Regions from separate parts of the Homo sapiens genome. Here regions 2, 3 and 4 are each linked to region 1. Evidence: promoter capture Hi-C in human tissues and cell types (Jung and others, 2019). All regions are on one chromosome and are shown on one strand. The core of a region is centred on a gene start or on the middle of the fragment in contact, and the rest is flanking DNA. Distances in the headings are between cores, read along the strand shown.

Region 1 (7,111 bases), core at 4,161-6,660:
TGCCCACTGCACAGGCAAAACAGTAAAGAAAGAGTTTAATTAACATTAAGGTGAGGTTGGCCATGTGGGAGAAGTGGAATTATCAGTCAAATCAGTCTCCCCAAAGGCTGGAGGTTATGGTTTTTCAGTTTGGTGGGCAGGGGACTAGGGGATGGATGCTGCTGATTGGTTGGGGATGCAGTCATTACGGGTGTGGAAAATCGTCCTCATGAACTGAGTCCACCTCTGGTTGAGGCCACATGGCCAACTGAGTCACAAGTCACCAGTCCTGGTGGCGTAAGTCTGGAAAACATCTCCACCAATCTTAGATTCTACAATAGTGATGTTATCTATAGGAGCAATTGAAGAAGCCACAAATCTTGTGACTTCTGGCTACATAACTCCTGAAGGTAAGGGATTATAGAAATTGTGTCAACATCTCAGCAGAATTCAGGCCCCTCCCATAAACTTAATTTTGTGGCCTTTCAATGGTTTTACAAAGGTGGTTTCAGCCCCCTGAATAAGGAAAGGATTAGTTTTAGGGAGGGACTATTATCATCCTGGCTTCTAATTTAAACTATAAACTAAATTCCTTCCACGGTTAGCTTGGCCTACCCCAGGAATGAGCGAAGACAGCCAGCCTGTGAGGCTAGCAGCAAGATGGAGTCAGCCACGTTACAATAACACCCAGAAAATGAGAAAGTGAATACTTCTTTTTTTATTTGATCTTTTTTAATTTATTTTTATTTTATTTATTTATTTATTTAATTTTTAAGTTTTATTTTATTATTTTTTTATTTTATTTTATTTTTTTATTTATTTTTATGTATTTATTTATTTATTTTTAAAGTGAATACTTCTAACGACTTTTGTAACACAAGTGTTTCAAATTCTTTTTTTTGTTTTTGAGATGGAGTCTCGCTGTCGCCCAGGCTGGAGTGCAGTGGCGCGATCTTGGCTCACTGCAGGCTCTGCCTCCCAGGGTTCACACCATTCTCCTGCCTCAGCCTCCCGAGTAGCTGAGACTACAGGCGCCCGCCACCGTGCCTGGCTAATTTTTTTTTTTTTTTTGTATTTTTAGTAGAGACGCGGTTTCACCGTGTTTGCCAGGATGGTCTTGATCTCTTGACCTCGTGATCCACACGCCTCGGCCTCCCAAAGTGCTGGGATTACAGGTGTGAGCCACCGCGCCCGACCTCAAATTCTTGCTTTCAACAAAAATTAAAGAAAAATCAAATCAAGTTGTTAATTGAGAGATTATCACTATATGACTTTTTTGCATATATCTCAAAAAGTATTCAACAAAATGAGTGACAATTTTGTCATCTATTTATACATGTGAACAAGATTTCTCGGCACACATAAAAACATAAAAGAAATAGAATTTATTGCAAAAGTTTGTCTATCATTAAGTAATGTTCATTCATAGATAAATGCTTCTTTTTTTGACAGAGTCTTGCTCTGTTGCCCAGACTGGAGTGCAGTGGTGCCATTTCAGCTCACTACAACCTCCGTCTCCTAAGTTCAAGCAATTCTCCTGCCTCGGCCTCTGGAGTAGCTGGGACCTCAGGCCACCATGCCCAGCTAATTTTTGTATTTTTTGGTAGAGGCAGGGTTTCACCAGGTTGGCCAGGCTGGTTTCAAACTCCTGACCTCAAGTGTTCCGCTCACCTTGGCCTCTCAAAGTGCTGGGATTACAGATGTGAGCCACCGTGCCTGGGCATAAATGCATTTTTGAAAGAAATGAGCCCATCTGTCTTATTAATAGCTATCATTCCAATAAAATGTTTACTGTCTTTAAAAGTTATTTTATTTATATAAAAGTTATAAATTGCAGCATACTTTTCTTTTGTTTGACTGCTAATAGTAATTATATTGATAATTAAATCCAGGGGAAAAAATTTACCAAGAGCCTTTTTGTCACAGGAAGTTAAGAAGAATTAAAAATTTAATACACATACATACTTTTGTTGTAGAGAAGTATTACAAAGTGATAAAAGACTTTCATGCATGAAATATATTGCTTTGGAATGTAATTCTGTGGAGGAAATGGAATGGAAATACAAGTTCAGAAAGATAAAAGAATGACAAAATTTCTTTTTTTTTTTTTTTGAGACGGAGTCTTGCCCTGTTGCCGAGGCTGGAGTGCAATGGTGCCATCTTGGCTCATGGCAACCTTCACCTCCCGGGTTCAAATGATTCTCTTGCCTCAGCCTCCTGAGTAGCTGGGATTACAGGTGCCTGCAACTACGCCCAGCTAATTTTTTTTTGTATTTTTCGAACTCCTGACCTCATGATCCGCCTGCCTCGGCCTCCCAAAGTCCTGGGATTACAGGCATGAGCCACCGCACTCGGCCAAGAATGACAAAATGTCTGATGTAGGCTGAGCGCGGTGGCTCACCTCTGTAATCCTAGCACTTGGGAGGATGAGGTGGGCGGATCACCTGAGGTCAGGAGTTCGAGACAAGCCTGGCCAACATGGAGAAACCCTGTCAACATGGGGAAACCCCATCTCTACTAAAAATACAAAATTAGCCGGGCATGGTGGCGAGCGCCTGTAATCTCAGCTACTCCGGAGGCTGAGGCAGGAGAATGGTTTGAACCCGGGAGGTGGAGGTTGCAGTGAGACGAGATTGTGCCACTCCACTCCACTCCAGCCTGGGCAACAAAGTGAGACTCCATCTCAAAAAAAAAAAAAATCTGATATAAATGAAGAATTTGCTAATATATTTTTACTACCAGAGCTGACCACTCTCCCCCTTCCCCCTTTCTTTCTTTCTTTTTTTTTTTTCTTTTGAGACAGAGTCTTGCTCTGTCGCCCAGGCTGGAGTGCAGTGGTGCGAACTCAGCTCACTGCAAGCTCCGCCTCCTGGGTTCAGGTCATTCTCCTCCCTCAGCCTCCTGAGTAGCTGGGACTACAGGCTCCCGCCGTCACGCCCGGCTAATTTTTTTTGTATTTTTTAGTAGAGACGGGGTTTCACCGTGTTAGCCAGAATGGTCTCAATCTCCTGACCTCATGATCCGCCCGCCTCAGCCTCCCAAAGTGCTGGGATTACAGGCGTGAGCCACTGCGCCCGGCCCCCACTTCCCCCTTTCTTATAACCACTGCATGATTTTGCATAAAACTTTTAGGGCGTGTCCAAGAAAAAAGTTTGAAAACTACTGGTTAACTCACTCTTTCCAGAAACTTGGCTGTGAAATGGAGAAGAGGAGAGCTGGTTCCAGGGAGGCTCAGGTCAAAGGTGATTTTATTTTATTTTTTAATTTTTAATTTTTTTGAGACTAGGTCTAGCTCCTTCCCCAGGCTGGAGTGAAGTGGTGTGATCACAGCTAACCACAGTCTTGACCTCCTGAGATCTCATGGCTCATTACAGCCTCCACCTCCCTGGCTCAAGCAATCCTCCCACCTCAGTCTCCTGAGTAGCTGGGATCACAGGCCTGCGCTACCATGTCTAGGTAGTTTTTGTATTTTTTTTGTAGAGGCAAGGTTTCACCATGTTGCTCAGGCAGGTCTCGAACTCCTGAGTTCAGGCAATCCACCTGCCTCAGCCTCCCAAAGTGCTGAGATTACAGGCATAAGCCACCACGCCCCGCCAGTGATTTCATTTTTTAAGTTGGAAGATCTGAGCATGTTTAAGTGTTTAGTATCATGCCCGTTTTACAGAAAAAAAGAGGCTCTTAGAAACTACGATTTTACTCCGATGCGGAGATTCTAGAACAAGATCCAGGTAATACATCAGTCAGGATAGGCTAGGTTATGCTGTAGCAGCACACACCCACTAAATCTCAGTAAGCTGAATACATCCTAGTTTTCTTCTCCCTCTTACTACGTATCCTAGGGTGCGTTGGCAGGGAGTCTGCTCATCTTAGCCACTCAGTGACCCAGGTCACCGGATGATGGTTTCATCTCCATAATTGGGGCAGCTGGCAGAAAGGGATACAATGGCCGGCTCAGTCGCCTTTAAAGCTGGTGGGAAGTAACATATTACCTCTGTGTGTTTCAAGTGGGTCAGGGAAGTGCCAGTCCTACCATGTGCCCAGAAAGGGAAAGCACTGGAAACGTTGATGAGCAGCGCTGCCTACTCCATGACACTTCCAGTATTAGAAATAACCACAAACGCTTTTTTTTCTTTCTTTTCTTTCTTTTTTTTCTTTTTTTTTTTTTTTTTTTTTTTGAGACGGAGTCTCCCTATGTCGCCCAGGCTGGAGTGCAGTGGCGCAGTCTTGGCTCACTGAAACCTCCGCCTCCCGGGTTCAAGAGATTCTCCTGCCTCAGCCTCCCAAGTAGCTGGGATTACAGGCATGCGCCAGGGCGCCTGGCTTTTCTTTTCTTTTCTTTTTGTATTTTCAGTAGAGATGAGGGTTCACCATGTTGGCCAGGCTGGTCTTGAACTCCTGACTTCAAGTGATCCAAAGGTCGGCTACAAACTTGTATTATCTGATACCTACTTTGAGCCCAGGCCAGAAAGGATAAAGTAAAGCATGAGACGTTGTTAGTTCATTTCAACAGATTGGGGAGTTGTGGGTTTTAGTCTCTGACGCTTCATTGTTACCATGAGAGCCTGCAAGTTTTTCTTTTTTCTCTTTTTTTTTTTTTTAACCTCTTTGGGTCATCTGGGAGGACGTGGTGCTCTTTTAGCTCTAACATTTTCTGGTTGCAATGCGTTTAGGACTGGGATGCGAAGTGAGTGAGTGAGTGAGCCTTCTCAGGAAAACACTTTCTAGAATTTTGTCCGAGTGTCTGTTGGGAAACGCGCTTACATCCCGCAGAAGGCGGTAAGGACACAGCGCACAACTCTGCATTATACCTGCGAGTTAAAAAGCCAAGGGTTCGCTCACTCAACCTTGAATGCGCGTCAGAATCACCTGGGGGAGGTTTTACAAAATACCCGTGCTCCACCCAAGACAATGAAATCAGACTCCCTGCGAGCGGGGCCGAACATCAGCATTTTTGAGGACGCTCCCTGTGGCTGTGCATCGGTGATCTTTAATCCCCTGCTACTTGTTAGAGGAGCTGGATGACACTTCGTGGGCTCATTCTCATAAATAAGCTGCTGAATGGAGTCCTCTCCTCCCAAGAGTTGTCGGTGTTGCATCTTTTTTGTTGTTTATTTTTTTTTAAGCCAACGGACGAAGACATCCAACGGTGCTGCATCTTAATGGAGGGACATCCAGCTAAAGGGAATCTTGGAGACCTCCGCGGGTTTCTAGCAGCTCGCGGCATGTTGGTTTCCCAGGGCAAGAGGCCGCCACTGAAGGTCAGCTCTGTCTTTCCAGCTGGGCACTGGAGGCTCTAAGTCTGTTTTCAGCAGGATCGGAGGAAGGAGACGGGGTGGCGCCAAGGAAGGAGGAGAAAAGGCGGCCGAGAAAAGGAGGAGGGCAAGGGGAAGAGGAAGGGCGAGGGAGGAGCCTGAGGAGACTCGCCCGGCTCAACCCCGACGTCCGCGCCCCGGCCGCCTGTTGGCCATGGCGGGCCTGGGCCTGGGCTCCGCCGTTCCCGTGTGGCTGGCCGAGGACGACCTCGGCTGCATCATCTGCCAGGGGCTGCTGGACTGGCCCGCCACGCTGCCCTGCGGCCACAGCTTCTGCCGCCACTGCCTGGAGGCCCTGTGGGGCGCCCGCGACGCCCGCCGCTGGGCCTGCCCCACTTGCCGCCAGGGCGCCGCGCAGCAGCCGCACCTGCGGAAGAACACGCTACTGCAGGACCTGGCCGACAAGTACCGCCGCGCCGCACGCGAGATACAGGCGGGCTCCGACCCTGCCCACTGCCCCTGCCCGGGCTCCAGTTCCCTCTCCAGCGCGGCCGCGAGGCCCCGGCGCCGCCCGGAACTGCAGCGGGTAGGGAGGCCGGGCCCGCAGCTCCCCTGGCTCCCCCGGGCTGCCCGCCGCCTGACCCTTTCCCATGTGGCTCGAACCCCTTTCCTCAGCCGTTCTACTTTTACGTTCCTTTTCTCAGTCTAAAAGTCGAGTTCCGCTCTTCGGAGGCACTTTGGAAAGTTCATAAAAGTATGAAGAAGTAGAAAAAAACAAATTCCCCATCTTCCGAAAGCTTGTCAACTTAGCTGTTACACAGCTTGGCATATTTCAACTTCTTCCCAATCGATCTTCGGTCTCTTTCTCTGAAACTTGTAAAATTGTGGTAAGATCTATATAACATTAAAACTGGCCATTTTAACCTTTTTCTTTATTTCTTTGAGACGGAGTCTCGCTCTGTCGCCCAGGCTGGATGGAGTGCAATGGCGTGCGTGATCTCGGCTCACTGCAACCTCCGCCCCCCAGGGTCGAGTGATTCTCTTGCTTCAGGCTCGAGAGTAGCTGGGATTACAGGCGTGCGCCATCACGCCCGGCTAATTTTGGTATTTTTAGTAGAGACGGGGTTTCGACATGTTAGCCAGGCTAGTCTCAAACTCTTGACCACAGATGATCCGTCCGCCTCGGCCTCCCAAAGTGCTGGGATTACAGTCATGAGCCACAGCGCCTGGCCTCATTTTAACCTTTTATTTTTTTGAGACGGAGTTTTGCTTTGTGGCCCAGGCTGGAGTGCAGTGGCGCCATCTTGTCTCACTGCAAGCTCCGCCTCCCGGGTTCACGCCATTCTCCTGCCTCAGCCTCCCGAGTAACTGGGACTACAGGCGCCCGCCACCACGCCTGGCTAATTTTTTGTATGTTTTTTTCTTTTTTTAAAAAATAGGGACGGGGTTTCACCGTTGTTAGCCAGGATGGTCTCGATCTTCTGACCTCGTGATCTGCCCGCCTCGGCTTCCTAAAGTGCTGGGATTACAGGTGTGAGCCACCGCGCCCCGCCTATTTTAACCATTTTTAAGTGTACAATTCAGTGACAAATTAGTTACATTTCCTGTTGTGCAACTATCACTTCTGTTTCCAAAACTGTTTCATCATCATAAACAGAAACTTTGTACTCATTAAGCAGTAACTCCTCATTTCTCCTCCCTCTAGCCCCTGCTCACATCTAAGCTACTTTCTGTATCTGAGTTTGCCTGTTCTAGATATTTCATATAACTGGAATCGTTCAATGTTTGTCCCTTTGTGCCTGGTTTCTTTCACTTAGCATAGTGTTTTCAAAGTTCATTCATGTTGTAGCATGTGTCAGAACTTTATTCCTTTTATGGGG
Region 2 (6,980 bases), core at 109-2,608, 200 kb after region 1:
TTCTGTGGTAAGCAGTGATGTATTCATGTAAATCAGATATCAATGAATATTCATAAACTGAGTATGAATATCTAAATTTCATTTTACAAAAAAATGTTTTTTAGTTTTTGGCATTATTAGACCCTGGCTAATTTAGATATGAAACCGTATACAGTTCACACATATTTTTATTTGTAACTTAAGGAATTGTCAAACAATAATATTTTTAATATCTGACCTAAAACAGATTGAATTATATTAGCTTCAGAAACATCAGTTCTGCAATGTAGTTTTCAAAATACGTGTTTTTGTTTTCTTAATATTTCCTTTAAACTCAATAACTATCTCACCAGAGATGTAAAAAGGCAATACCTATATAAAGGAATAATATAAAGCTGTGTTCTATTCATATTACCCTTGTTCATAATTTATGATTTTAGGTCATTACCATTGTGAAACCAAGCAACAATTAATTCAGTAACTTTAATAAAGGAAAATATAGGGGTGATTTTAGCTGTTATGCCAAGATACAAACATGTGGACAGCAATTATTTTAGATTATAATAAACCACCATTGAATTAATAGTTGAGATTTGCAAGATTTTGATATCTATTATTAAGCGTTGAGCAGTTGAGAAACTGAATGGTAAAATTTAGAGATCTCTATGAATTAAAGTTAAGAAGTATTAGTGGGATTTTATGATTTTTCATAACTATTCAGTGATGTTTTGGAAACAAGTCTAGTCCAGGTTGCCTGTGAATAGCTGTTTAAAACAATAGAAATGTTCAATCCGTAATAATTAACTGAAATGTCTCTTCTGTCCAAATAAGAGAAACTAATTGAATGTGTGGATAAATGACTTTCTTTTATACTGAAGTAACTTTCCCATCGAATGCGGCTCCCTCATGAACATAAATTTAGAGTATATGCTGATAAATATATAAAGTATAAAACCGATATTAAATAGGCCAGCAAAATATGGCTCTTGGTGACAGTGGTAAAAGGAATGCACCCTTTCAGTAATGAGTAGTAAAGGTAGTAATGTGTTTTAAATACAACTCAACAAGCCTTTGTTGAGAAACTATGTATAAGAAGCCATGCTAAGTGCTGGGATTACAAAAATTAATAAAATATGGAATCTGTCCCTAAGGAGCTCATGGCATGGTTTATGAGACAAGTGATGTCATTATCAAGTTATTTGCAGAAAAAAACTATGATAAACTCAAATAGGGTGAGTGTAAAGTGAGAGAGGAAGTATATATTTGTTTGAGGGGATGAGAGATGAGCAAGATGTGAAGGTACAAGAATAGGTCAGATCATTTTAATAAAAATATGGCCAGGCCTGGTGGCTCACACATGTAATCCCCACACTTTGGGGAAGCCGAGGCAGGAGGATTGCTTGAGCCAGGGCAACATAGAGAGACCCCCATATATACAAAAAAAAATTAGCTGGGTGTGCTGACACGCACCTGTAGTCCCAGCTACTTGGGAGGCTGAGGTGGGAGGATCACTTGAGCCCAGGAAGAGGTTGAGGTTGCAGTAAGCTGTGATTGTGCCACTGCATTCCAGCCTGGGTAACAGAGTGAGATCCTGTCTCTGTCTGTCTCTCTGTCTCTCTGTCTCTCTCTCTCTCTCTCTCTTTCTCTCTTTCTCTCGATATACCTATCTGTATATAGATATATCAATCGATATGTGTATATCCAGATCTGTCTATAGATATATCTGTATCTTGATAGATATATCGAGAGAGAGAGAGAAACATTTGTTATATTTTCAGTCTGCACCGGGCCTTGCGCTATGCAGTTTGCATGCCTTTTCTCATCAATTCTTACAATAACCCTGTGACGCAATACTAGTATTAATATTATCATCTCTTGTGTAGATGAGGAAACTGAGGCCTCAGTAAATTTTCAAAGTCACAGAGCTAGTAATTGTTCAGTAAAGATTGAGTTCACATCTGCTCGTCTCTAGAACCTAGATACTTGACTGCTGCACTGTTGTGCTTATGAGTTACGAAGCTTTATTTTAGTGGCCCTGGGAAGTGATAGAAAGGCTTTGAGGTAGAGAATACCTTAATCAGTATTTTATTTTAGATATACCCCTTTGCTTGAAATTTGCAGGATGGCTTGGTAGAGGGTTACCTGAACTTCTGGGACTTGGTTATGCAGTAATATAAGTGAAAAATAATGAGAGTTGTGGAGATCCAGATGATGGATTGGGGTAGGGTAAGGATGGGGACCAGTTTGATAGGTATTTAAAGAAGTGGAGGCTGGGCGCAGTGGCTCACACCTGTAATCCCAGCACTTTGTTAGGCTAAGGTGGGCGGATCACTGAGGTTAGGAGTTCGAGACCAGCCTGGCCAACATGGGGAAACTCCGTCTCCATTAAAAATACAAAAAATGGGCTGGGCGCGGTGGCTCACGCCTGTAATCCCAGCACTTTGGGAGGCTGAGGCAGGTGGATCACGAGGTCAGGAGACCATCCTGGCTAACACGGTGAAACACTGTCTCTACTAGAAATACAAAAAATTAGCCAGTCGTAGTGGTGGGCGCCTGTAGTCCCAGCTTCTTGGGAGGCTGAGGCAGGAGAATGGCATGAACCCGGGAGGCAGAGCTTGCAGTGAGCCGAGATTGTGCCACTGCACTCCAGCCTGGGCAACAGAGTGATACTCCGTCTCTAAATAAATAAATAAAATAAAATAAAAATACAAAAAATTAGCCGGGTGTGGTGGCACGTGCCCATAATCCCAGCTACTCGGGTGGCCGAGGCACAGCAGAATCGCTTGAGCCTGGGAGATGGAGGTTGTAGTGAGCCGAGATCACGCCATTGCACTCCAGCTTGGACAACAAGACCGAAACTCCATCTAAAAAAAAAAAAAAAGAAATGGAATACATAGCATTTGATAGTCAATTTAGATATATGAGGTTAGAGAGATATCACCAAATATTACAGAATAAGCTGGTTAGAGCAGAAAAGGGAAGGAAAGGTTGATGGCAGAAGAGAGGGTTTGACCAGGAAAATGATAAATTCAGTTTTAGATCTTCTGAGTTTGAGGTATCAGTAGGATGTCCAACAAGAAACTTGTAGAACTGAAAGATACTTTGGCTTTGAGAGTAGATTATGGTATATAACACATTTAAGATGTCATAAAGGTAAAGTTGTTGCTAAAGAGCACTGTGAAGAGTAATGTCATTATTTGGAAATCAGTGGAGGGTGAGAGCAAAGAGAATTCAAAGGGGTACTTTTAAAAACTGATTTGGAGAGTTACTTATTTGCAAGTCCAGAAAAAAGACTCATCTCTCTCTTAGACACTTACATAGATGTAATAAAAACCTTTATCCCTTCATTAAAAGTCAACAGGAGAAGTTCTTTGCCGAGGGACCATTGCCAGTAAAATCGCTTATAGACAGGTCATTTTTTCCAAACATAAATCTTTTTCTAGATGTGGACAATAAACTTAAAGAAGAAGAAATTAAAATACCCAATATATTTATATGGAGAAATGTTTACTGTTACTTGCGTTAAAATGCAGTCTACTATTTTGAACACTCCAATTAGCAAAATAAAGAAAATGAACATACTTTTATGATGACAAAGATAGGATGAAGGCACTTTCGTATGCTGCTTGGTGATAGCAGCATTTGGCCCAACCCTAGTGAAAGGCAGCTTGGTAATCTTTATCAAGGGCCCTAAAAATATTCATCTCTTTGACTGGACACTTCTAGAGATTCCTTATCTTAAATAAGCAGTGATGTGGGAAAAGATGTTGATATGAAAATATTTGTTAATGTTATTTATAATAGTGAAATAACAGAAATAACCTCAGTGTTAAAACTGGAAAACATTAAATAACCAGTCACTTAATACAGTGACTTAAATATTATGAGGGGCATCAAAGCATACTGAAAAGACCTTGGTTTTAAAGCCCAATTCAATCATTTATTAGATCTGTAACCTTAGACACACAGTTTGTTCATCTGTAATACTCTGAAAACATTAAGATTCAAAAAGAATTAAGTGTATCATACTAAAAATACATGATATGTTTTAATAGTTTGTGTAATAGTTACTATTGCATATAGAGCCATCAAAAATAGGCCAGGCACAGTGGCTCACACCTGTAATCCCAGCACTTTGGGAGGCCTACGTGGGCGGATCATGAGGTCAGGAGTTCGAGACCAGCCTGACGAACATGGTGAAACCCCATCTCTACTAAAAATACAAAAATTAGCTGGGTGTAGTGGCGCACGCCTGTAATCCCAGCTACTGGGGAGGCTGAAGCAGGAGAATCGCTTGAACCTGGGAGACGGAGGTTGCGTGAGCCAAAATTGTGCCATTGCACTCCAGCCTGAGCGACAGAGCAAGACTCCATCTCAAAAAAAAAAAAAAAAAAAAAAAAAGAGTTTTTACTGATACAGAAATAATTAGGGATACTATGGAAAAGAACAGGTTTGATACAGCTTATATGATCTCAGTTATGTTAAATATATTTGTTTTCTACATGCATAGGAAAAGTGGTAGAAGTAAAACCACCAGATGTTAACTGTGATTGTCTCTGAATGATAGAATCATTGATGGTTTTAAAAATTTCCCATAAACACCTGTGCTTTTGCTTTTTTTTTTTTTTTTTTTTTTTGGACAGAGTCTTGCTCTGTCGCTCAGGCTGGCATGCAGTGACATGATTATAGTACACTGTAGCCTTGAAATCCTGGGCTCAAGCTATCTTCCCACTCCTGCTTTCGAAAGTGCTGAGATTATAGGCGTGAGCCATCGGGCCTGGCCCTGTATATGTTTTCCAAATTTTTTAATTATACTTTAAGTTCTGGGGTACATGTGTAGAACATGCAGGTTTGTTACATAGGTGTCCATGTGCCATGGTGGTTTGCTGCACCCATCAACGCATCATCTACCTTAGGTATTTTTCCTAATGCTATCCCTTACCTCAGCCCCCACCCCCCGACAGGCACCGATGCGTGATGGTCCTCTCCCTGTGTACATGTGTTCTTATGGTTCATCTCCCACTTATGAGTGAGAACATGTGGTGTTTGGTTTTCTGTTCTTGTGTTTGCTGAAAATGATGGTTTCCAGCTTCATCCATGTCCCTGCAAAGGACGGGAACTTATCCTTTTCTATGTCAGCATAGTATTCTGTGGTGTATATGTGCCACATTTTCTTTATCCAGTCTATCATTGATGGGCATTTGGATTGGTTCCAAGTCTTTGCTGTTGTGAACAGTGCTGCAGTAAACATACGTGTGCATGTGTCTTTATAGCAGAATGATTTGTAATCCTTTGGGTATATACCCAGTAATGGGATGGCTGGGTCAAATGGTATTTCTAGTTCTAGATCCTTGAGGAATCGCCACACTGTCTTCCACAATGGTTGAACTAATTTACACTCCCACCAACAGTGTAAAAGTGTTCCTATTTCTCCACATTCTCTCCAGCATCTTTTCTTTCCTGACTTTTTAATGATCGCCATTCTTACTGGCGTGAGATGGTATCTCATTGTGGTTTTGATTTGCATTTCTGTAATGACCAGTGATAATGAGCTTTTCTTTATATGTTTGTTGTCTTCTTTTGAGAAGTGTCTGTTCATATCCTTCATCTACTTTTTAATGGGGTTGTTTGTGTTTTTCTTGTAAATTTAAGTTCTTTGTAGGTTCTGGTTATTAGCCCTTTGTCAGATGGGTAGATTGCAAAAATTTTCTCCCATTCTGTAGGTTGCCTGTTCACTCCGATGGTAGTTTCTTTTGCTATGCAGAAGCTCTTTAGTTTAATTAGATCCCATTTGTCAATTTTGGCATTTGTTGTCATTGCTTTTGGTGTTTCAGTCATGAAGTCTTTCCCCATGCCTATGTCCTGAATGGTATTGCCTAGGTTTCTTTCTAGGGTTTTTATGGTTTTAGGTCTTATGTTTAAGTCTTTAATCTATCTTGAGTTAATTATTGTATAAGGTGTAAGGAAAGGGTCCAGTTTCAGTTTTCTGCATATGGCTAGCCAGTTTTGCCAGTACCATTTATTAAATAGGGAATCCTTTCCCCATTGCTTGTTTTTGTCAGGTTTGTCAAAGATCAGATGGTTGTAGATGTGTGGTGTTATTTCTGAGGCCTCTGTTCTGTTCCATTGGTCTATGTATCTGTTTTGGTACCAGTACCATGCTGTTTTGGTTACTGTAGCCTTGTATAGTTTGAAGTCAGGTAGTGTGATTCCTCCAGCTTTGTTCTTTTTGCTTAGGATTGTCGTGGTTATGCGGGCTCTTTTCTGGTTTCATATGAAATTTAAAGTAGTTTTTTCTAATTCTGTGAAGAAAGTCAGTGGTAGTTTGATGGGGATAGCATTGAATCTATAAATTGCTTTGGGCAGTACGGCCATTTTCACGATATTGATTCTTCCTATCGATGAGCATGGAATGTTTTTCCGTTTGTTTGTGTCCTCTCTGGCTGGCATCTGGCAGGTGCCCCTCTGGGACAAAGCTTCCAGAGGTAGGAACACGCAGCAATCTTTGTTGTTCCGCAGCCTCTGCTGGTGATACTCTGGCAAACAGGGTCTGGAGTGGACCTCCAGCAAACTCCAGCAGACCTGCAGCAGAGGGTTCTGCCTGTTAGAAGGAAAACTAAGAAAGGAATAGTATCATCATCAACATCAAAGACCAAAGGTAGATAAATCCACAAAAATGGGAAGAAACCAGTGCAAAAAGGCTGAAAAAAAAACGAGCACGCCTCTTCTCCTCCAAAGGATCACAACTCCTTACCAGCAAAGGAACGAAACTGGACAAAGAATGAGTTTGACAAATTGACAGAAGTAGGCTTCAGAAGATGGGTAATAACAAACTCCTCCAAGCTAAAAGAGCATGTTCTAACCCAATGCAAGGAAGCTAAGAACCTGGAAAAAAGGTTAGACGAATTGCTGACTAGAATAACCATCTTAGAGAAGAACATAAATGACCTGATGGAGCTGAAAAATACAGCATGAGAACTTCGTGAAGCATACACAAGTAT
Region 3 (7,122 bases), core at 1,956-4,455, 130 kb after region 1:
CCGAGATTGCGCCACTGCACTCCAGCCTGGGTGACAGAGCGAGACTCCATCTCAGAAAAAAAAAAAAAAAAAAAGAATCTTAATAGTTTCAACTGTTTATAAAACTTTTGAATTTTGGATTATATTATCTGTACTTTGCTTTACTGGGCCCAGGGGGAGTTAAGCTTTCCTTCTTATTACAGCTAAGAGTTTGCCTGTTGGACCACTTAACGCCCCCAGGGAGCATGTGCATGTCTAAAGATGGCAACTCTGTTTATGATTGCTGTTTTGGTTGGATTTCTAATATTCGGTGTGATTAAAGCAGAAATGCATTTCTAGCCACTGCTGATTACAGACATATTGCACTCTGATGGGTATCGCTTAGCAACTTAGTGCAGTAGACTCAGTTAAAAGAAGTGGATGTGTGCCATATTGACATTTTGAGCTCACATTCTTGTGGGTAATATAAAATTCCTTAACCTGATAATATTGCAGCTAAACCTAGTATTTAGGGTCTAAGTTGAATGAGTATTACCAATTTTAGAAGTAATCACCTCCTTGGTTAGGGAAATGACAGTTGCACAGGTGGACAGCCAGAAAGCTGAATGTTATCAGTTAAATCTTACATCTCTCCTTAACCTGCCTTCGTGGTGCCAAATAGCAAGTTTCTAATTGAAACTGACAAATTGTAGGTGTGTAGCTTTTTTTTTTTTTTTTTTGAGACAGAGTTTCGCTCTTGTCTCCTAGGCTGGAGTGCAATGGGGAGATCTCAGCATACTGCAACCTCTGCCTCCTGGGTTCAAGCCATTCTCCTGCCTCAGCCTCCCAAGTAGCTGGGATTACAGGCGCCCACCACCACGCCTGCCTAATTTTTGTATTTTTAGTAGAGACGGGGGTTTCACCGTGTTGGCCAGGCTGGTCTCCAACTCCTGGCTTCAGGTGATCCACCTGCCTTGGCCTCCCAAAGTGCTGGGATTACAGGCGTGAGCCACCACGCCCGGCCATGTGTAGCTTTTAATTGTGGTTCATTAACCCAGTTTCTAAGCAAATTAGAACCTTCTGTGTATCTCCCCTAGTTCTGTATGCCCCACTGGTTCCTGTAGAGCTTTATTTCTGAAGGGAAGTATGGGAAAACTATGGATATTTGAACTAAAAAAAAAAAAAAAAGAATTAAAAAGAACTCCATCCCAAAATGATTTGTTGTAAATATGTTCATTTAAAGCAATTATATTTTCCATATCTGATCAAGCAAAAGTAGTACATAAAAGCCAAAAAACCCAATTTAAAGAATATGTTATGGAATAAACTCTGATTTTAGAGGTTGTAGTAGCATATTTGTTGTTCTCATACATTGAGTGTTCATCTGAATGTACGTTGAATATGCGGTGAGTGATTCACAGTATAAAATGATTGGCAAGTATCTTCGAAATTACAAACCACATACTGATTAGACAAATAGATTTGCAAAACTGAAGCTTTTTGGATTTAAAAAATATCTCCTAGCCTCATTCTTCAAGCCTGGTGTGTAATTTTTATAAGGCCTTATAGTAGTTGAAAATGAGTACTCTTTTATGGTGACGAATTCTTTATGGTGAGTGAGAAATAATGCTTATTCTTCCAATTTTAGTATATGTGGTGCTGAATCGAGCACAATAATGCTTATTCTTTGCTTCGGAATTTTTTAATTTATTATTATTGTTATTTTAAATTTTTATTTATTTATTTATTTTGAGATGGAGTCTCACTCTGTCGCCCAGGCTGGAGTGCAGTGGCGCGATCTCAGCTCACTGCAACGTCTGCCTCCTGGGTTCAAGCGATTCTCCTGCCTCAGCCTCCCAAGTAGCTGGGACTACAGGCGCATGCCACCACGCCCAGCTAATTTTGTATTTTTAGTAGAGACAGGGTTTCACCGTGCTAGCCAGGATGGGTCTGAATTTCTTGATGTCGTGATCCACCTGCCTTGACTTCCCAAAGTGCTGGGATTACAGGCATGAGCCACCGTGCCCGGCCCGGAATTCATCCTTTAGAAAGATTTCTTCCAGCTGTTCCTCAGTTCTCTGCACTCCCTTACACTTTCCACCTTATCTGTCTGGGAACTAATTTAGTCTTTATGTTGGCTGCTTTCTTTTCACTTTTCAGGCTAAGATTTCCTTTCTCTTGGAAATCAGACGTTTACTTGGTCCTGCAGCTCTCTCTCTGTGGACCAGTCTTTTTTGTTGTTGTTGTTGCCAGATACTCACCGCCTCTACTGTTTATCCACCCATTTCCTTTATAACTCTGAAAAGTAGCTCCTGCCTCTGCTTGATTGCTGTTTTCTTGAAAGTGATTACTTCTGGCAAAACATAGTGGTCATTGCTTAGTTGTAATGCCACTGTGATGTTCCACTCCCCCCGGAAACCAATCTCTTCCAGTTCCCAAGACACAATACTTTTCTACTGAATTGGAGTTCCTTAGCGGGGGTCTTAGTTTTGTTCTGCTATTCAGTGCCTTTGTCCCTATCCTAGCCATTAGCTTTCCTATAGATCCTTGATTTCCTCATCTGTTGAAAAAGAAATGGCTAGAAAATCTTTTAGATTCTTTCAAGTTTAAATATTCGATGATTTTAATATTCTAACAGCATGTCTCTGTGACCCAGCAGTCTATTGGGAGCTGACCCCACTTGATTTACCAAACTCTTTCCCATTATGCCTCTGCATGCACCTATGTTCCAGGCAGGTCACCTCAGTCTCTTCTGTGTGTATCATGCTTCTTCCCACTTCTTGGCCTTTATTTCTGCCAGTCTCTGCCTGAATGCTTTAATTCCTCCTTTGTGCTTTTCTAATTCCTGTCCATCCTTCAATGTTCAGCTCAGATTTCATTTTTTTTTTTTCCCCATGAGGTTGTTTCAGACTAAACTCTGCTATCTCACTTCTTGGTATCCTTGTTACCTGGAGTTTTACAGAACCACACAGTAAGTTTTCTTCCTTTAGGAGGATTGTTTGAACACAGCTTGGCTTTGTTTTCTTTTTTTCTTGTCTTTTTATCAAATGGAGTGCATACTTTCTGAAAAGCAAAGAACGCTATTTGAATTCTCTTCTAGTCACCCCAGTGCCCAGCACAGTCTTAAACACACAGAACATTGATGGAATGTTTTTCATATGATTCCTGGTTGAAGGGTAGACTGGCTAAATAAAAAAAGTGGTACTTTTGGCTTTGTTTTACTGAATTTTACTTCCATGTTTGCAATAGCCTAGGTCTGATAAGTGATATTTTAACTAGGAATGAGTAAGAAAATTAGCATAAAGAAGGAATTTATACATATTTATATTTCCTCCCATAGAGCAAACATGTTTTTTGAATCAGGTTTCAGATCTGATCAACTACTTTTGTAATTTTGGATTTGTCACTTACTGTTAGGATATTTTGCAATGGTGTGATAGAATATGAATGTGAAGCACTTTGAAAAGTCTAAAATTTTTCTAATATAAGATTTATATGTTTTCTTTATAGCTTATTATTATTATTATTTTTTGTGTGTGTGACAGAGTCTTGCTCTGTCACTCAGGCTAGAGTGCAGTGTAGCTTATTACTGATTATTGTGTTTTCATTAAATAAGGGAGAGTAGGCCAGGTGCGGTAGCTGATGCTTGTAATCCCAGCACTTTGGGAGGCCCATGTGGGAGGACTGCTTGAGGCCTTGAATTCAAGACCAGGCTGTGCAACATAGTGAGATGCTGTCTCTAAAAAAAATTAGTTGGGTGTGGTGGCATGTGCCTGTAGTCGCAGCTACTCAGGAGGCTGAGGCAGGAAGATCACTTGAACCCAGGAGTTCAAGCATACAGTGAGCCATGATTGTGCCACTGTACTCCAGCTTCGGTGACAGAGTGAGACCCTGTCTTCCAAAAAAAAAAAAAGAGAGCGTGACTAGTCTCTGGATATTCCTTTGTATGTACCTTGGCCAATATATACCTTACTTTAGTATCCATTGACAAGTTCTCTTTTTTCTTCTTCTTCATTTTTTTTTTTTTGAGATAGAGTCTCGCTCTATTGCCCAGGTTGGAGTGCAGTGGCACGATCTCAGCTCACTGCAAGCTCCACCTTCTGGGTTCAAGCGATTCTCCTGCCTCAGCCTCCCAAGTAGCTGGCATTACAGGCACGTACTACCACACCTGGCTAATTTTTGTATTTTTAAAAGAGACAAGGGTTCGCCATGTTAGCTGGTCTCAAACTACTGACCTCAAACAATCCACCTGCCTCAGCCTCCCAAAGTGCTGGGATTATAGGCATAAGCTGTGGTGCTGGTCTAATATTGTTACATTTTATTTTAAATGTTCCTGTTTTTTGCCCTACTCTTTTTATTTGACTTTTTAACCATTAGGAAATTAGATTCTTTTCTCAAATCTGCTTTATTATTATTATTATTTTGAGACAAGTTCTCGCTTTCTCGCCTAGGCTGGAGTGTAGTGGTACAATTTTGGCTCACTGCAACCTCTGCCTCCCGGGTTCAAGTGATTCTCCTGCCTCAGCCTCCCAAGTAGCTGGGATTACAGGCGTGTGCCACCACACCCAGCTAATTTTTTTGTATTTTTAGTAGAGGCAGGGTTTTACCATGTTGGCTAGGCTGGTCTTGAACTCCTGACCTGAGGTGATCCGCCCGCTTCAGCCTCCCAAAGTGCTGGGATCACAGGCTTGAACCACCGTGCCTGGCCCTATTTTTGTATTTTTACTATAGACGGGGTTTTGCCATGTTGGCCAGGCTGGCCTCAAACACCTGCCTCAGCCTCCCAAAGTGCTGGGATTACAGATGCAAGCCACTGCACCTGGCCTTAAGTCTGCTTTTAAAAAATGTTTTGGCTGGGTGCGGTGGCTCATGCCTATAATTCAAGCTTTTTGGGGGGCTGAGGTGGGAGGATCACTTGGGCCTCAGAGTTTGAGACCAGCCTGGGCAACAGAGTGAGACCCCATCTCTACAAAAAGTAAAAAAAACAAATAAAAAAAAAATCAGCCAGTGTGCATTGGTTGAAAGTAAAGAAAAGAAAAAAAACAGACAAATTAGCCAAGTGTGGTAGTATATGCTACTTGGGAGGCTGAGTCAGGATTGCTTGAGCCCAGGAAATTAAGGCTGCAGTGAGGCATGATTGCACCACTGCACTCTGGCCTGGGTGAGACCCTGTCTCAAAAAAAATTTTTTTTTTTAATATGGAGAAAGTATTTTTGTTTTTCGTTTTTTATTTGGGTACCGGCCACTGCACCCAACCAAACATTTTGTCCTTAAACAAAAGTTTAAGTCATATAATACAGTAGTAAGAATGCCTTATTTTTTACATCTTTGTTCTTTAAATTACTCAGATTGCTATGGGGCATTTTTGTTGTAGCTTTCAAATTTGGTATTCTGGGGTTCTATGTAGACTCTATATTGTTGCATTCTAACGACATACTTTTAAGGATAAGCAGCGTATTAATTAAAAATGTGTTTTCCACTTGTGTTCCTTAGGTCTGCGTATATTTTGGAGGTGTGTGTGTATATAAGTCAAGGGACAGGAGGTATCGGAAGGCTCTAAAGGAAGTTTAAGGAGGAGAATATTCTATAGAAGTGGAAGGGGAGATTTGTGGTCAGCTTAAACTGTTAAAAGGCTTGGGATCAATACCGAAGCAGAATATGAGCATCTTAATCTGTTTCTTTGCAAAGGATTGACTTGTATTTATAAAAGCATTGGCTTGTTTCATCTGACATCTTTTAAAGTACCCCATTTTCTTGGGGGCGGGAAGGGAGAGATGAGACCATTTGTTTTGATCTTGAAGGACAGAAAAGTGGTTTTACGTTGTAGTGACTGTGAATTAAGTTTAAGGTCTCAGCAAGTTGTAAATTTCTGTATCATACTATGTGGTAGAGCCTTCAGTAAACAGAGTACTCTCAGGTGTTTAATGCTATAGGATATAAACTATAACTGCTGTTTATAGTACCCTCGCTAAATTCTCTTAAAGGCAATCCATTTGACCACTTCAAATGTTATATGCCTGTGATATATAGTTATATTCTCTGCATATAACTGGTTTTTAAAAATTGTTTATTATTCATTTATTTTAGAAGTGAGGTCTCTCTTTGTTCCTCAGGCTGGAGTGCAGTGGTGTGATCATAGCTCACCATAGCCTCGAACTCCTGGGCTCAAGTGATCTCCCACCTCCCGAATATCTAGGACTATGGGCGTGCGCCACCATACCTGGCTATTATTTTAATTTTTTTCGTAGAGACAGTGTCTTGTTATGTTGCCCAGGCTGGTCTCAAACTCTTGGCCTCAAGCAGTCTTCCCACCTGGCTTCCCAAAGCACTGGAATTACAGGCGTGAACTACTGTGCTGGGTCCTGAGTGGCTTTTGAGCCACTGACTATATCATCAAAAAGCTTCTGTTGAGACAAAGCCTCAAGCTAGTGTGGAGTTCATCCTACTAAAATGAAGAATTGGCATTATGTTCTAAAACTTTACATATTCTTACCATAAATGGTACTAATTACTTTGCAGTAGCAGTAACTTGAGGTGCAAACTTCCAGATTGCATATTTTCTTTAAACCATAGTCTGGCACTCACGGTTTGGCTTAGGGTTGCCACTGCAGTCCACAAGCTGTCGCCTGCCCTTATTCATATTTTATAGCTTTGAATGTCTTATTCCATTGAACTTCAGATAACTTTTTTTTTTTGAGATGGAGTTTTGCTCTTGTTGCCCAGGCTGGAGTGCAATGTTGTGATCTGGGCTCACTGCAACCTCTGCCTCCCAGGCTCAAGCGATTTTCCTGCCTCAGCCTCCCAAGTAGCTGGGATGACAGGCATGCGCCACCATGCCCAGCTGATTTTGTTTTTTTAGTAGAGACAGGGTTTCACCATGTTGGTCAGGCTAGTCTTGAACTCCCAACCTCAGGTGATCCTCCTGCCTTGGCCTCCCAAAGTGCTGGGATTACAGGCATGAGCCACCGTGCCCGGCTGAGAACTTAACTTTTTCTGATGAAATTCTTTCCTGCTCCACCTAACTCCCGTGTCCCACCCCCACCAGCAGAGTGGTATATCTAGCACAAGAGGCATGAAATTAATTTAGTAAATAGCAGGACTACTAGAAACTTTTAAGGATTATTTAACTTATTTTTAATCAAAATTTTATACTCAGATAATGAC
Region 4 (7,607 bases), core at 59-2,558, 220 kb after region 1:
AGGAGTTCCTGAGAACATGTGCCCAAAGTGGTTGGGGTACAGCTTGGTTTGATATATTTTAGGAAGGCATGAAACATCAATCAGATACATTTAAGAAATACATTGGTTTGGTTTAGAAAGGCGCGACAACTCAAAGTGGGGGCTTCCAGGCCATAAGTAAATTTAGACGTTGTCTGGTTGACGGTTGAGTTTGTCTGAAGACTTGGGATTAATGGAAAGGAATGTCCAGGTTAAGATAAAGGATTGTGGAGACCAGATTTTGTTGTGCAGAGGAATCTCTCAGCAGACTTCAGAGAGAGAGAAGGTTGTAAAATGTTTCTTATTAGACCTAAAAGAGTGCCTGGCTCTTAGTCGATTAATCTCCTGGATCTGGAAAGGAAAGAAGGAAAACAAAGGGAAAAGGGGATTCTCTATAGAATGTGGATGTTTTTTCCCCACAGGAGACTTTGCACGGCAAATTTCAAGGTATGGCAAGGAAATATATTTTGGGGCTAAATATTTTTTCCTTGTCTCATAATGTTATGCCAGAGTCAGATTGAAAAGTAAGTCACGATATATAGCGTCAAATAAAACCCATCTGATGAGAATTTATGGTTTGTAGGGCATGACTTCCTAGACCCCTTAGGTAGGAGTTTGGGCAAGTTAAAAAATCAGAGCTAAGTCCTCACATGGCTTTTAAAAATTGTGAATAAGTAATACTTCCATAAATTCTGATTTAATTACGAATCCCACTAATTTCTTTTTTTTCTTTCCCAGGGACAGCCACTGCAAAGGGTTAAATGTATATTCTTCCAGTCTAGCTTTTATATTTTTATGAGGATGGGGAGATAGACAGATAGGTATATAGTTCAGTGTTTCTCAAAGTGTGGTCTTTAGACCAGCAGCATCAGCGTCACCTGGAAATTTGTGAGAAATGCCAGTTCTTAGTTTCTAACTAAATACTTAGTTTCTCACTAAAAACAGCCATTTTTATTAAGTCCTTCAGGTGATTGTGATGCACATTGAAGTTTGAGAACCATTGTTCATCTAGGTCATTGTCTTTAACTGCTGTATGGTGTTCCCTAAATTGAATATACCATTTTTTAAAAAAGAGACTAAGTCTTGCTATTATGTTGCCCAGGCTGGTCTCAAACTTCTGGGCTTATGCGATCTTCTTCCACCTCAGCCTTCAGATAGCTGCAACTATAAGCATGCACCACCGCACCCAGCTTGAATGTACCATATTTTAAATTCCATATTGTCAAGCATTTAAGTTACTTTTCTTTAAAAAATTAACGTTATTGCAAAGGAAACAATTGGCAGAGTGAAAAGACAACCTACAGGATGGGAGAAAATATTTGCAAAGTATGTATCCAGCAGAGGATTAATATCCAGAATATACAAGGAACTCTGATATCTCAACAGCAAAAAACAAAACAAAACAAAACAAAACAACAACAAAAAATTTAAAAATGGGCAAAGGACCTGAATAGACATTTCTTAAAAGAAGACAGACACATGACCAACAGATATATTTTTTAAAAAAGCTCAACATCACTAGTCATCAGGGAAATGCAAATCAAAACCACAGTGAGATATCATCTCACCCCGGTTAGAATGGCTACTATCAAAAAGACAAAAAATAGCAAATGCTGGCAAAGGTGTGGAGATAAGTGAACTCTTAAATGTGGCTAGTGGGAATGTAAACTAGTACAGCCACTATGGAGAACAGTGTGAAGGTTCCTCAAAAAACTGCAAATAGAACTACCATGTGATCCAACAATTCATTACTGGACGTTTATCCAAAGGAAGGGAAATCAGTATATTGAAGAGACATCTGTACTCCCATGTTTATTGCAGCACTATTCACAATAGCCAAGATATGGAATCATCCTAAGTATCTAACAACAGATGAATGCGTAAAGAAAATATGGTATATATACACAATGGAATAGTATTCAGCCATAAAAAAGAATGAAATTCTGTATTTTGAGGCACGTGGATTGAATTGGAGGACATTATATTAAGTGAAATAAGCCAGGGACAGAACATTAAACACTGAGTGTTCTCATTCATATGTGGAAGCTAAAAAAAAGTTGATCTCAGAAGTAAAAAGTAGAACAGAATACTACAGGCTGGGAAGGATAGGGTGCGGGGAGGGTAGGGAACGATTTGTTAAAGGATTCAAAATTACAACTAGATAGGAAGAGTAAGTTCTAGTGTTGTATACCACTGTAAGATGGCTGTAATTAACAATATGTTACAAAGTTTCAAAGAGCTAGGAGGAGGATGTTGAATGTTCCCAGCACAAAGAAATGATAAGAGATGATGGGTATGCTAATTACCTTGATTTGATCTCTGTATAGCTATGAAAATGTTACTATGTTCTTCATAAATATTAATACATCAAAAAATTTAAAATTAATAATTAACAAAAGATAAAGGGCCCTGAACTCTAGTTTTAGAGCTGAATTGTATCCAGTCAGATAGTTTCTATGTTATTTAAATGTTCACTTTAAATTTGGAGCTGAAATATATTTGGAAATCTTTACTTTTAGTATGTTCATTTGTGTGTGTGAGGTAAACTTGGTTGGCTATTGGCAAATGTATTGGGTAGCTGCTTAATAAAACATTTCCTTCCAGTGCTTCAGCTTTCTGATGCTTAGAAAATATGTATAATTAACATAATATGCATTATCACTTTTGAAAGTAACTAATTATTCGAACAGTTATTTGTGCCAAATTAGTAATGTGAATTTGGGAACTATCAGTCTTTTCTATGGCCCGGAATAATTTAAATAATAGAAATTATCTGATTAGATAGAAATCATTGTAAAATCATCAAGGTTAGGATTTCCTTTGACTTTTGCTTATCATTAGTTTTAAAGAAAAAAAATAAATTGACATAATGGAAATTTTCACTGTACATCAGGAAGGGAATTCAGTGGAAAAGTAAGCTTCCTATTCACTCTTGACCTTCAGTTTATACTTTTTTTCCTAAGTCAAGTACTGCTACTGGTTTCTTATGCTCTTTCTAGAACTAGCCTGTTTATTGTCTATTTAAAATAACTCATTAATCACCTTTTATTTGAGCTCCCTTATGGATCTGTGTAGTTTTTCTGTCTCTTTAAAATTTTGTATGCGGTAAAATGCACGTAACATCAAATTTACCATCTTAGCCATTTTTAAGCATACAGTTTAGTAGCACTATCTTTCACATCGTTGTGCAATCAATCTCCAAAACCTGTTCATCTTCCAAAACAAATTCTGTATCTATTAAACAGCTCTCCGTTCTTCCCTACCCTCAACTCCTGGCAACCGTCCTTTTACTTTCTGTCTCTCTGAATTTGACTACCTCATATAAGTGGACTCATACAGTATTTGTCTTTTTGACATGGGCTTATTTTACTTAGCATAATGTCCTCCAGTTCCATTCATGTTGCCTTGAAAGACAGGATTTCATTCTTTTTTTTTTATGGCTGAAATAGTATTCATCCATGTTGTAGCATGTCAGGATTTCCTTCCTCTTTAAGGCTGAGTGATATATTCCATTGTATATATATACCAACATTTTATTTATCTAAATTCATCTGCCAATGGATTTTTCAGTTGTTTCCACCTTTTGGCTATTATAAATAATGCTACTGTGAACATGGGTGTACAAATAACTTCAAGACCCTGCTTTTAATTCTTCTGAATATATATCCAGAAGTGTAATTTCTGGATCATATGGTTATTTTATTTTTGATTTTTTGAAGAATTTCTGTTGTTTTTAAAGTCACTTTTGATGGTTTGTTCTTTGCTAGAAAATATATATTTCAGTTTTATCAGTGCAGAGTTGTATATAATACTTACATATTTTGTACAATTATATAAAGGTTATATTATATTTCCATATTCTCATATAATTATCTTTAGTATCCATGTTTGTAACTGTTTACTCATTTCTCTTTCCTCATTCACGTTTACTATTTTATTGGTCTTTAAAACCTAGGCTTTGATTTTGTTTCCTAGCATTTAAATTTTTCTGTTTCATTAATTTTAGCTTTCATTTTATTTATACTGTTATTTCTTGAGGCAATGGCTTGGTTCATCTATTTTCAGTTTTTAAAAAAACTGTAAAGTATTTGTAAGGCTCTAAATTTTATTTTATTTTTTAGTTATAGGAATTTTTAATATATTCTGGTTATTCACCCCTTATGAGATACATTATTTGCAAGTATTTTCTCCCACTCTGTGGATTGTTGTTTCATCTTCTTGATAGTGTCGTTTGATACACAAAAGTTTTTATTTTGATGAAATCCAGTTTATCTGTTTTTTCTTTTGTTGCCTGTGCTTTTTTGGTATCATATACAAGAAATCTTTGCCAAATCCAATGTTGAAAATATTTTTTTTTCCTATATTTTCTTATAGGAGTTTTATAGCTTTACTGTTAAGTTTTGGTCTTTGATCTATTTTGAGTTAATTTTTGTATATGATGTAAGAAAAGGGTCCATCTTCATTCTTTTGCATGTGGATAATCAGTTTTCCTAGCATCATTTGTTGAAAAGACCATCCTTTCTCTATTGAATGGTCTTAGCATCTTTGTCAAAAATTGGTCATATGTGTGAGGGTTTCTTTCTAGGCTCTCTATTCCATTGGTCTGTATGACTGTGCTTATGCTAGTACCACATTGTTTTGATTACTGTAGCTTTGTAGTAAGTTTTCAAATAAGAAAGTGTGAGTTCTCCAACTTTATTCTTTTTCAAGATAGTTTTGACTATTATGCGGCTCTTTGAGATTCCATATGAATTTTAGGATGGGTTTTTCCTTTTTTTTTTTGAGATGGAGTCTCGCTCTGTTGCCCAGGCTGGAGTACAGTGGCGCGATCTCGGCTCACTACAAGCTCCGCCTCCCAGGGTCACGCCATTCTACTGCCTCAGCCTCCCAAGTATCTGGGACTACAGGGACCCGCCACCATGCCCAGCTAATTTTTTTTGTATTTTTAGTAGAAACGGGGTTTCACCATGTTAGCCAGGATGGTCTCCATCTCCTGACCTCGTGATCTGCCCGCCTCGACCTCCCAAAGTGCTGGGATTACAGGCGTGAGCCACCGCGCCTGGCTTTTTTTTTTTTTTTTTTTGCAAAAAATACCATTGGGATTTTGATAGGGATTGCATTGAATCTGTATATTGCTTTGGGTAATATTGTTACCTTAACAATCTAGGAACGTGAGATATCTTTCCATTTATTTATGTTTAATTTCTTTCAGCAATGTTTTGTAGTTTTTTATTAAGTTTTTCACCTCCCTGATTAATTCCTATGTATTTTATTTTGGATGCTATCGTAAGTGGAATTGTTTTCTTAATTTCCTTTTTGTATTTTTCATTGCTAATGTATAGAAATCCAGCTGATTTTTGTGTGCTGATTTTGTATTCTGTGACTTTGAATTTATTAGCTCTAACAGCTTGTTTTTGGTGTGTATGTGTCATCTTTAGGGATTTCTACATATATATCATCTGTGAATAGACATAGTTTTGCTTCTTTCTGTCCAAATTCAATGAATTTTCCATCTTTTTCTTGCCTACTTGCTCTGTCCGGAATTTCTAGTATTATGCCAAATAGAAGAAGAAAAAGTGGGCATCCTCATCCTGTTCCTGATCTTAGGGGAAAAACGTTCAATCTTTCACTATTGAGTATGTTGTTAGCTATTGGTTTTTAATACATGGCTTTTACGATGTTGAGGAAATTTCCTTCTATTCCTAGCTTGAGTGTTTTTTTATCATAACAGGTGTTGAACTTTGTCAAGTGGTTTCTCTGTATTGATTCAGATGATCATGTGGAGTTTCTTCTTCATTCTATTAATGTGGTATATTACATTGATTTTTTCATTGTTGAATCATCTTGTGCTCCTGGAGTAAGTTTCACTTGGTCATGGTGTGTCATCCTTTTAATAGGCTGCTGATTTTGTTGAGTTTTTCATCAGTATTCCTAGGGTGTATTAGTCTGTAGTTTTCCTGTAGTATTTTTGTCTGGCTTTGGTATCGGTAATGTTGGACCATAGAACTAATGAAGAGAAGTGTTCCCTTCTCTTTAATATTCTGGAAGTGTTTGAGAAGCATTCTTTAAATGTTGGGTGGAATCAACCAGTGAAAGCTATCTGGTCCTAGCCTTTTCTTTGGGAGCTTTGTGATTACTGATTAATCCCTTTACTAGTTATAGTTCTATTTAGATTTTCTATTTCCTCATGAGTTAGTTTCGGTAGACTGTGTGTTTGTAGAAATTTGTCCATTTTGTCCAGGTTATCCAAATTGTTGGCATACAGTTTTACATAGTATCGTCTCATAATTCTTTTTATTTTTGCAAAATCAGTAGTGTCACCACTTTTTTTGTTGTTGTTGAGGGGGTGGGGGGGATAGAGTCTTGCTCTTTCGCACAGGCTGGAGTGCAGTGACAAGATCTTGGCTCACTGCAACCTCTGCCTCCTGGGTTCAAGTGATTCTCCTGCTTCAGCTTCCCTAGTAGCTGGGACTACAGGCATGCACCACCATGCCTGTGTAATTTTTGTCTTCTTTACAGTAGAGATGGGGGTTTTACCATGTTGATCAGGCTGGTCTTAAACTCCTGACCTCAAGTGATTCGCCTGCTTTGGCTTCCCAAAGTGCTGGGATTACAGGCATGAGCCACTGCATCTGGCCGTGTCACCACTTTCATATCTGACTTTAGTAATTTGGTGTTCTTTCTCTCTGTCTCTCTTTTATTTATTTATTTTTTTGTTAACCTATCTAGCTAGAGTTTTGTTGACTTTTTCAAAGAATCAGCTTCTGGTTTTGTAATTTTTCTCCATTGTTTTTCTGTTCTCTCTTTTCACTCTAATTTTTATTATTTTCTTTCTTCTGCTAGCTTTGGTGTAGTTTACTCTTTTTCTAGTTCCTTGAGGTATATGGTTAGGTTATTGAATGAGAACTTTCTTATTTTTTGATGTCAGTGTTTACAGGTTTACATTTTTCTTTTAGCTCTGCATTCACTGCATCCTATAAGTTTTAGTATGTTGTGTTTTCGTTTTCATTTATCTCACGTTGGTTTCTAATTTCCTTTGTGATTTTTTCCTTTGATCTATTAGTTAACATTCACAAATTTTCACATATTTGTGAATTTTTTAGTTTTTTTATCTGCTGTTGGTTTTTCATTTCCATTATGATCACAAAACATACTTTGTATGATTTCAGTTTCTTTAAATGTATTAAGACTTATTTTGTAGCCTAACATAGGTCTGTTTTGGAGAATGTTCCATGTACACTTGAGAAGAATATATTGTGCTGGTGTTGGGTGAGTTTAGTTTTTGACATGTTACATTTGAGCATTCATTTAGGAGAAAAGCCAAAGGAAGACATTTGTTAATGAACTGTAAAGAGGGGTTGACATCACAAGAATAGGTAATTTTTTTTGAGAAACAAATTTAGAGCAACAGAACAGCCTTGAATATATTCTTATTTAGAAGGCTGAAGGTTGAATATAACCTGGAGTGTTAGAAAAGGGTGGAACAGTTTATCATAGACCAGAGCCAAGAAAGTATAATATTTAGACTTTAAATATCAAAAAGAAGATATGGTCAGCTGAATTCAAAGTTGAAGGCTAGGTGTGGTGGC

The links. Contacts are between HindIII fragments. The study calls those that stand out against the background at their distance.
Region 2: a contact is called between a fragment that was not itself captured here and the fragment with the promoter of RNF135 in region 1, in 2 of the 25 tissues and cell types used here (IMR-90 fibroblasts and lymphoblastoid cells).
Region 3: a contact is called between a fragment that was not itself captured here and the fragment with the promoter of RNF135 in region 1, in 1 of the 25 tissues and cell types used here (bladder).
Region 4: a fragment that was not itself captured here is called in contact with the fragment with the promoter of RNF135 in region 1 in 1 of the 25 tissues and cell types used here (mesenchymal stem cells).

Annotation. Positions count from the first base shown.
Region 1 is chr17:30,965,629-30,972,739 of GRCh38, forward strand. RNF135 (ring finger protein 135) reads left to right here and starts at 5,411. Exons shown (of 5, transcript NM_032322.4): 1 at 5,411-5,817. The coding sequence starts at 5,446. RefSeq lists enhancers at 4,547-4,636, 4,697-4,756, 4,825-5,386, 5,037-5,286, 5,387-5,948 and 1 more and a silencer at 5,367-5,906. The HindIII fragment of the contact is 16,210 bases long and covers 1-7,111 here.
Region 2 is chr17:31,170,753-31,177,732 of GRCh38, forward strand. All of the region lies in intron 5 of NF1 (neurofibromin 1), which reads left to right. Among named protein-coding and RNA genes, the nearest start is that of MIR4733HG, 79 kb to the left of the region's middle. The HindIII fragment of the contact is 5,735 bases long and covers 1-4,226 here.
Region 3 is chr17:31,098,879-31,106,000 of GRCh38, forward strand. All of the region lies in intron 1 of NF1 (neurofibromin 1), which reads left to right. Among named protein-coding and RNA genes, the nearest start is that of MIR4733HG, 7.0 kb to the left of the region's middle. RefSeq lists a silencer at 4,785-4,966. The HindIII fragment of the contact is 4,792 bases long and covers 810-5,601 here.
Region 4 is chr17:31,192,263-31,199,869 of GRCh38, forward strand. The region is part of intron 8 of NF1 (neurofibromin 1); the gene reads left to right. Among named protein-coding and RNA genes, the nearest start is that of MIR4733HG, 100 kb to the left of the region's middle. The HindIII fragment of the contact is 9,867 bases long and covers 1-6,242 here.